3 separate regions of the Homo sapiens genome follow, and regions 2 and 3 are each linked to region 1. Evidence: promoter capture Hi-C in human tissues and cell types (Jung and others, 2019). All regions are on one chromosome and are shown on one strand. Each heading gives the region's core, a stretch centred on a gene start or on the middle of the fragment in contact. The rest is flanking DNA. Distances are from core to core; before and after follow the strand shown.

Region 1 (3,087 bases), core at 363-2,862:
AATGTCTGTACCACTGGTTCTGTGGCCTTGCTTTTGGCTATAATCCAAGCTGTGCAGCCTTGCTTTATTCTGCCCATTTTCTGAGCCCATTCTCTATGGTTTCTAGCAATTCTGTGAGTTACAGCATTATTAAGAATTTCCTGGTTCAGATTGCAATTAGAAAACCTTGAATCTTCCTTACTAGTCAGAATAAGCTTATCAAGGAAAAAATAAAGTCTTTTAATAACTTATATTATTTACAGAAATTAGCAGAGAGCATTTTGAGAGTACATCTGATACTGTGGTTAATACATATCAGGATCCTCAACCTGAAAATGTTATCATTTACTAAGGAATGGAAAACTTGTACATGAAACAAATACAATCTGCAAGATGGAATAAAATTAAATGCTAAATTGAGAACAGACTGTCATTTAGAAAGTCTTTCTGAAAGAGATGGGACTATATTTAATTTCTGAAGGATGGGCAGGAGATGGCATTTAAAGTACAGAAATCATCAAGCACAGAAACAAATGTGGATACTCATGGGGCAGTGACCAACCTGACTGAAGGGTGGGTGCACGTCTGAAATCAATGGGAATACATTTGAATGATTAGGAGATAATATATTATTAAGGCCTTGCCTCTAATCAGAAATAAAGATATTCTCTATTTCCCCAAATAAGGAATTCTTACATAGAGCTTAATGTATTTAAAAATTTTTAAATGGGCCTACAGAAAAGAGGTGGGGCTGACGGAAGTAAATAAAACCTGAAGATAAATTAAAGAATATATCAACGTGGGCAAAATTTTCCATTAGTTTTGGAACTTAGTTTTGTTTTTGAATAATAAGCAGTTAAATAATTAAAGCTTTGCCTTGGCAATGCAAGGACTGAAGATTATTTCTCGGTGGCAATTTTCCAGACTTGCTAGTTGTCCTTGGGTCTTGGTAACATTCTGCTCATTAACTTCAGGAAGACGTCCAGGAGTAAAGATGCATTTGAAAGTGGCTGAAAATAGTTTGTAAAGCTCAGCTTTCCTGGCTCGACAGTGAAATGACCGCACAGGCCAGTCACTGGGTCAAAAATCAATTAACAAAACGGGAAGTTTTCATGTCTTTATTTTTACATTAGCTCGAAAATCACAACCAAGAAGAAAGGCAACCACTGAATACAGGAAATACAGTATTGTTATTGCTGTTTTTTTTTTTTCTCTTGGCAAGGCTGGGTCGGGTGCCTTCCAGCCTCGCTGTGGATCCCGCGAAGTGGACGGTTCGCTTCGTGGCTTCTTCCCAGACCCCGCCACTGCGGAAACCGTCACTCGGTGGCCCCCGACTGGGTCAATGCGAGGACGCCCACCTCCTACCTTTGAGTCTCTCCTCTTCTCCAGGGTACAGCCAACCCTTTCTCCAACGTAGCCGGAGTCCGAGAGTCCCAGTTCCGCCCCTCCAGCCCGCCCCAGGCCAGGTGGGGATGCGCCCGGCCCGGGCCAGCGCTGGTCCCGGCAGTTCCGCGTCTGCGCAGCGGGCGAGGGGCTGGAGCGGGGCCGGCCGGGGAGGTGCAGGAGACGTGGGAGCCAATGGGCACGCTCGGGGGAGCCGGGCTGGCGGCGGCGGTGGCGGCCGGCTGGGCGCGCACTCTCGGGATGGAGGGCGAGCGCCGGGCATCGCAGGCGCCCTCCTCGGGCCTCCCGGCCGGGGGCGCCAACGGGGAGAGCCCGGGGGGCGGCGCCCCCTTTCCGGGCAGCAGTGGCTCTTCCGCCCTGCTGCAGGCGGAGGTGCTGGATCTGGACGAGGACGAGGACGACCTGGAGGTGTTCAGCAAGGTGAGGGCGGCGGCGGCGAGTCCCGGGAAACTTCCAAGGCAACTCCGGGCGTTGCCAGCATTGCGCCGACGGCTGCCTCTGGCGCGCTTGCCCTCCCGGGGCGGTGGCTCTGAGCTGGGGACGAGTGAGGTCCCCCGGGCTGCTGGACCCCGCCTGCCAGCTCTGGCCGCACCCGGGGCCGCGTCGCCTCGGGGCCTCAAACCGCAGCCGCTCCCTCCTCCGCACTTTGACCTTCCGTTCGGCGGGGCTGTGGCTTAGTGGAGTCTGCAAAGTTGTGATTTGTTTTCCCTTTCTGCTTCTCTGACACAGACATCTTCCTCGCGGCAGCTCCCGAACCTGGGAGGCTGGTGGCTCAAAACCGCTCCCGCCAGCTGCTTTTCGGGCGAGGCCAGCCCTGAACTCTGGGAGAGCAGCCAAGTTTAGAGAAATTATTCTTAATTTAGTGTTGTTGCTTGTGGATTTGAGACTTGGGTGAGTCTCGGGTCTTGTGGGAATAGGTTCTAGGAAATCTCCCTGAACAGGAGAAAACGGTTGTTTCTAACAGGAAGCTCCTCCGCTGAGGAGCTAAGGATTTTTCAGATGGTCAGCTACTGCCACCCAACCCACAGCCAGTGCTTTCGTTTTTCCTTGCCCCCGGGAAATTTAGGACCAAAGGCTCTTATTTGCTTATTTTACTGTTGGAGGGAAATTGACTTGTGGGGGCTAGTGGTAGACTTTTGGTACGTGTAGACTGGTGTTTGTAATTTCTTAAAGGGTTTTAGAAAAGAAAAATACCTTTCTTGCAGGGAGGTTGAATGTCACTCCAGTTTCTCAAGTTGCTGCTGAGAGAAGACCTGAGTTCAGATCACAACGCTGTATTCATTACTAAGAAGCCTGTTCATTTTAACGTTACCTGGAGATATTAGGTAAAGCAAACGACCTACTTAACCACCGCATTTACTCTGGGAGAGCAAACCAAAGTTAGGAAGTGACCATGCATACTCTGACTCCAAAGAGGAGTATATAAAACTTATTTCTACTTCGGTTTAAATGGAATGATAGGCCCAGGTTTGTATTCCGAATATTTAAACAGACTATCACAGTTTTGTGCTCTTGACTTTTCTGTTAAGTAGTAAAACAATGGAATTATTTTATGTTTAGTTGTAAACTCTGCCTTTTTATATTCCACACATACTTCATGTTCAGATCAACGACAGTTGGCCAGTTGGTTATTTACTTTCTTTCCTTCTTTACATTGCTGTTTGGATAAGGAATATTAGTCTATGGTTATGCATTGTGAAACTT
Region 2 (3,087 bases), core at 328-2,827, 52 kb after region 1:
GAGTAATTCTTTAGGGCACTAGGATTATCAGAATGGTAAATGGACATTGGCTTCAACTTAAAATCACCAACTACATTAGCTCCTAACAAGAGAGTCAGGCTGTCCTTTGAAGCTAGGCATTGACTTTTCCTCTCTAGCTATGAAAGTCTTAGATAGCATCTTCCTCCAATATAAAACTTTTGTCAGCTGGGCACAGTGGCTCACACCTGTAATCCCAGCACTTTGGGAGGCTGAGGCGGGCACATCACCTGAGGTTGGGAGTTCGAAATGAGCCTGACCAACATGGAGAAACCCTGTCTCTACTAAAAATAGAAAATTAGCCAGACATAGTGGCACATGCCTGTAATGCCAGCTACCCGGGAGGCTAAGGCAGGAGAATTGCTTAAACCTAGGAGGCAGAGGTTGCAGTGAGCCGAGATCGTGCCATTGCAGTCCAGCCTGGGCAACAAGAGCGAAACTCTGTCTCAGGAAAAAAAAAAAAAAAAAACTTGTCTACATTGAAAATCTGTTGTTTGTAGTGTAGCCATCCTTATCAATGATCATAGTTAGATCTTCTGGATAACTTGTTATAACTTGTACATCAGCATTTGTTGCTTCATCTGGCATTTTTATCTTACGGAGACAGCTTCTTTCCTTAAACCTAGTGAACCAACCTCTGCTAGCTTCAAACATTTCCTCTCCAGCTTCCTCACTTCTCCTAGCCTTCATAAAATTGAAGAGTTAGGACATTGCTCTGGATTAGGCTTTGGCTTAAGGGAATGTTATGGCTGGTTTGATCTTCTACTCAGACCACTAAAACTTTCTCCATATCAGCAATAAGGCTTTTTTTTTGCTTTCTTATAATTCATGTGCTTATTGGAATAGCATTTTTATTTCTTCCAAGAACTTTTTCTTTGCATTCAGAACTTGTCTAACTGTTCTGTGCAAGAGGCCTAGCTTGCAGCCAGTCTCAGCTTTTGAAATGCCTTCCTCACTAAGTTTAATCATTTGTAGCTTTTGATTTAAAGTAAGAGATGCTCAATTCTTTCTTTCACTTGAACACATAAAAGCCATTGTAGGGTTATTAATTGGTCATATTTCAATATTATTGTCTCTCAGGGAATACGAAGGAGAGGAACAGAGACAGGAGAATGGTCAGTGATACAGTCAGAACATACACATTTATGGATTAGATTCACTACTTTATATGGACACAATTCTGCCCCCTCTTCCAAATTACAGTGGTAACATCAAAGACTGCTTATCACAGATCGCCATCACAGATAGGATAATAATGAAAAAGTTTGAAGTGTTGTAAGAATTACCAAAATGTGACACAGACACGTGAAGTAAGCACATGTTGGAAAAATGATGCTGGTAGGCTTACTCAGTGCAGGGTTGTCACAAAGCTTCAATTTGTTAGAAAAAAAATGGAATATCTGCAAAGCACAGAAAAGCACAGTACAATAAAATGAGGTATAGTTGTATAATTAGTAGACTTTGGAGAGTAAGCCTTTTCTCTCTGGTGAATCTTAGTCAGTAGTCAATTTAGAGGGGTGTCAATGCCCCAGTCACATGGCTATTCAACTTTCAGAGAATTTCTAGACCCAAACTAGTGTTTTCATTTTATAAGCATATTTAACATCTATTTAGTACATGTTGTATGCCAGGCACTATGCTAAGCATTCACATATATCAGCCAATGTCTAATCCTGTGAGATAGGTAGTAATTTGTTCCCATTTTTGTGGACGGGAAAATTGAGTCCTAGAGAGTCAATCAGCAAATAGTTCTTGGCTCCTTAAGAAGACTGAAAAAGCCCGTCTCCCTAGGAGCTTATTCTCTAGTGGAAGGATGCTGAAAATAAGTAAAAAAATTAAATGAATATGATAATTTTAGACTGTGATTAGTGCTATAAAGAGAATAAAACAGGGTAACATGATAAAGAATACCAGGAGGGGAAGTATCTAGAGTGATCAGAGAAGGCCTTTCTGAGGAGATGACCTTGAGAAGAGAGCTGAATCATCATAAGGGGCCATTGATCCAAATTCTGGAGCACCAGTGTTGGAAGAAGGAGGAAAAGCCATGATCCTCTGAAATGAGAATGAATTCACATGTTCCAGGAGGTTTGTTAGGTTGCAAGTAGCTAGAATATGAAGGACAGAGGCGCAGCACTATGGCATGAGGACTGAAAGCGAGCGGACGAACAATGTGTAGGCCTTGAGTTTTCTTCTGTTTGCAATGGAGAGCCCCTGAAGGGTTTCAAGTGGGGAAGAGTTGTGATTTGATGTGTTACATGTTTTTAAATTTATTTCCAAGTGACAAACTTACAGAAAATTTGCAAGTACACTTCAAAGACCTGCATTTCTTTTGAACCATTGGAGAATAAGTTGTAAATCTAATAACCTTTGAATAGTGTGTTTCTTACAAACAAGAATATTTTCCTATATAACTATAGTACAACCATCAATATCAATAAGTTATTGATATATTTATATTATCAAATGCTCAGACCCATTCAAGTTTCACCAGTTCTCTAATGTTTTTTTGACAGTATTTAGTTAGATGTCTCCTTCAGTCTGGAACAGTCTTTCATCTTCCCTTAACTTTCATGGCCATTCTACATTTGAAGATTATTTTGTAGCATGCCTCCTATTTTAACTTGTTTCATATTTCCTTAAGCTTAGATTTATATTATCAGTCTTTGACGGGAATGTCACTTAAGTGTTACTGTGATCCTTTCATTGATTCTTTTTAGGTAGTATATGATGTTTATTTGTCCCATTAATGATTCTGCACCGTTTGATGACTGATTAAGGCAATGTCCGTCCAGCTTCTCCACTATAAAAGTCACTCTTTTTCCAATGTAATTAGTAAGTGTTTTGTGGGGAGCGTCTTTGAGACTGATGATCCCATGCCTTATCATACTTTAACTTTCAATTTATTCATGTATGAATTTGTTTTTATTTTAAGACATGGGTTTTATTATCATTACTTGTTTTGATGCACGAGTTACCCAAATTTGATGAGTGGGACCATCTTCAAGCTGGCTTCTATGCCCTTTTGATATGTTCACATCATTTTGATCACCTCTTTGCTTCTGATACAAC
Region 3 (3,087 bases), core at 429-2,928, 48 kb before region 1:
CAGATTTTTATATTAATTATAACTTGATAAAGCTTAGAAAAATAAAACTGTTAGAAACAACTCAATTCAAACACTAACCTGAAATTGCCTTAGTTTTCATGAAGTAACAAAGCTTAAAACAATACTTACGTATTATTTTATACCAAAACTTACTAACACTGGAAAATTGAAATTACCTATATAGTAACTACTAATGTGGATACCTAAAGTTTCACAATTATTCCGAATGGATACTTTTGTTTTGTGAATTTAAAATGTGATACCACATTCAAAAGTTAATTCTGTTTAAAAGACTGCTATTATTTTTCAAAAGACCTTGATATTATTAAATATATTGTATGCCAGAGTATGTACTATCCTTATACTCTGCTTTCTTCCATTTATGGATTCTAATGAAAGGCAAAAGCCACATCAGTTTCTCTCACTTGATCTGTCTGCAGTATTTCAATTCGTAAAGTACTAACATCAATTACTTTTTAAAAGCTATTCACTTGTCAACTGTACTGACAAATAAAATCAGGCATAAATTATGAGTCACTGCTTTTGTAGACTAAATTGATTCTTTAGAACACTAATAAAGAAAACATTTATAGAAAATTTCTTTTTAAAATATAAATGAATGCCTATTAATTGCATCAAGTAACAATATGTCACAAAAACATTTTTCATAAAGGTTTTTTAAAATAATCACAATGGAAATTGTCATATTTGGAAGATGATGTAAAAAAACTTTAAAAATTGGTCTGTTCTGGCCAGGGCAATTAGGCAGGAGAAGGAAATAAAGGGTATTCAATTAGGAAAAGAGGAAGTCAAATTGTCCCTGTTTGCAGACGACATGATTGTATATCTACAAAACCCCATTATCTCAGCCCAAAATCTCCTTAAGCTGATAAGCAAATTCAGCAAAGTCTCAGGATACAAAATCAATTTGCAAAAATCACAAGCATTCTTATACACCAATAACAGACAAACAGAGAGCCAAATCATGAGTGAACTCCCATTCACAATTGCTTCAAAGAGAATAAAATACCTAGGAATCCACCTTACAAGGGATGTGAAGGACCTCTTCAAGGAGAACTACAAACCACTGCTCAATGAAATTAAAGAGGATACAAACAAATAGAAGAACATTCCATGCTCATGGATAGGAAGAATCAATATCATGAAAATGGCCATACTGCCCAAGGTAATTTATAGATTCAATGCCATCCCCATCAAACTACCAATGACTTTCTTCACAGAATTGGAAAAAACTACTTTAAAGTTCACATGGAACCAAAAAACAGCCCGCATCACCAAGTCAATCCTAAGCCAAAAGAACAAAGCTGGAGGCATCACACTACCTTACTTCAAACTATACTACAAGGCTACAGTAACCAAAACAGCATGGTACTGGTACCAAAACAGAGTTATAGATCAATGGAACAGAACAGAGCCCTGAGAAATAATGCCACATATCTACAACTATCTGATCTTTGACAAACCTGAGAAAAATAAGCAATGGGGAAAGGATTCCCTATTTAATACATGGTGCTGGGAAAACAGGCTAGCCATATGCTGAAAGCTGAAACTGGATCCCTTCTTTACACATTATACAAAAATCAATTCAAGATGGATTAAAGACTTAAACGTTAGACCTAAAACCATAAAAACCCTAGAAGAAAACCTAGGCATTACCATTCAGGACATAGGCATGGGCAAGGACTTCATGTCTAAAACACCAAAAGCAATGGCAACAGAAGACAAAATTGACAAATGGGATCTAATAAAACTCAAGAGCTTCTACACAGCAAAAGAAACTACCATCAGAGTGAACAGGCAACCTACAAAATGGGAGAAAATTTTCGCAACCTACTCATCTGACAAAGGGCTAATATCCAGAATCTACAATGAACTCAAACAAATTTACAAGAAAAAAACAAACAACCCCATCAAAAAGTGGGTGAAGGACATGAACAGACACTTCTCAAAAGAAGACATTTATGCAGCCAAAAAACACATGAAAAAATGCTCACCATCACTGGCCATCAGAGAAATGCAAATCAAAACCACAATGAGATATCATCTCACACCAGTTAGAATGGCAATCATTAAAAAGTCAGGAAACAACAGGTGCTGGAGAGGATATGGAGAAATAGGAACACTTTTACACTGTTGGTGGGACTGTAAACTAGTTCAACCATTGTGGAAGTCAGTGTGGTGATTCCTCAGGGATCTAGAACTAGAAATACCATTTGACCCAGCCATCCCATTACTGGGTATATACCTAAAGGACTATAAATCATGCTGCTCTAAAGACACATGCACACATATGTTTATTGTGGCACTATTCACAATAGCAAAGACTTGGAACCAACCCAAATGTCCAACAACGATAGACTGGATTAAGAAAATGTGGAACATATACACCATGGAATACTATGCAGCCATAAAAAATGATGAGTTAATGTCCTTTGTAGGGACATGGATGAAATTGGAAATCATCATTCTCAGTAAACTATCACAAGAACAAAAAACCAAACACCGCATATTATCACTCATAGGTGGGAATTGAACAATGGGAACACATGGACACAGGAGGAGGAACATCACACTCTGGGGCCTGTTGTGGGGTGGGGGGAGGGGGGAGGGATAGCATTAGGAGATATACCTAATGCTAGATGACGAGTTAGTGGGTCCAGCACACTAGCATGTCACATGTATACATATGTAACTAACCTGCACATTGTGCACATGTACCCTAAAACTTAAAGTATAATAATAATAAAATTAAAAAAAAGAAGCTGTGGAAGGAACAAAAAAATTGGTCTGAAAAGAGTAATCAAATGCTAGTGTGAGAATAAAATTTGTTCATTTTATTTGTCCAGTGTGTTCACTTTTAGATCAAACTATACCAAGTGCTTTTCAGCTAGCTTTTTTTCTTCCAGAACCAGTGGCAAAACAGCTGCTCAGCCTATTAATAGCGTTTGCCCCACAAACCAGCAAAGTTCGGAAATTGCCATCACTGTTCCTCATCTAGAGTCTAAGGTTTATGCAACTGAATCATTCATGTCCCCACAAAACTCCCATAGGGCAACTAAGCTGTCT

What was found. Contacts are between HindIII fragments. The study calls those that stand out against the background at their distance.
Region 2: a contact is called between a fragment that was not itself captured here and the fragment with the promoter of SNX7 in region 1, in 1 of the 25 tissues and cell types used here (aorta).
Region 3: a fragment that was not itself captured here is called in contact with the fragment with the promoter of SNX7 in region 1 in 1 of the 25 tissues and cell types used here (thymus).

The regions. Positions count from the first base shown.
Region 1 is chr1:98,660,109-98,663,195 of GRCh38, forward strand. SNX7 (sorting nexin 7) reads left to right here and starts at 1,613. Exons shown (of 9, transcript NM_015976.5): 1 at 1,613-1,803. The coding sequence starts at 1,624. It overlaps SNX7-DT (SNX7 divergent transcript), which reads right to left and starts at 664. Exons shown (of 1, transcript NR_189290.1): 1 at 199-664. RefSeq lists silencers at 1,415-1,554, 1,575-1,694, 1,925-1,994. The HindIII fragment of the contact is 3,254 bases long and covers 522-3,087 here.
Region 2 is chr1:98,712,626-98,715,712 of GRCh38, forward strand. The region is part of intron 7 of SNX7 (sorting nexin 7); the gene reads left to right. Among named protein-coding and RNA genes, the nearest start is that of SNX7, 52 kb to the left of the region's middle. The HindIII fragment of the contact is 4,775 bases long and covers 1-3,087 here.
Region 3 is chr1:98,612,439-98,615,525 of GRCh38, forward strand. No RefSeq gene overlaps it. Among named protein-coding and RNA genes, the nearest start is that of SNX7-DT, 47 kb to the right of the region's middle. The HindIII fragment of the contact is 8,915 bases long and covers 1-3,087 here.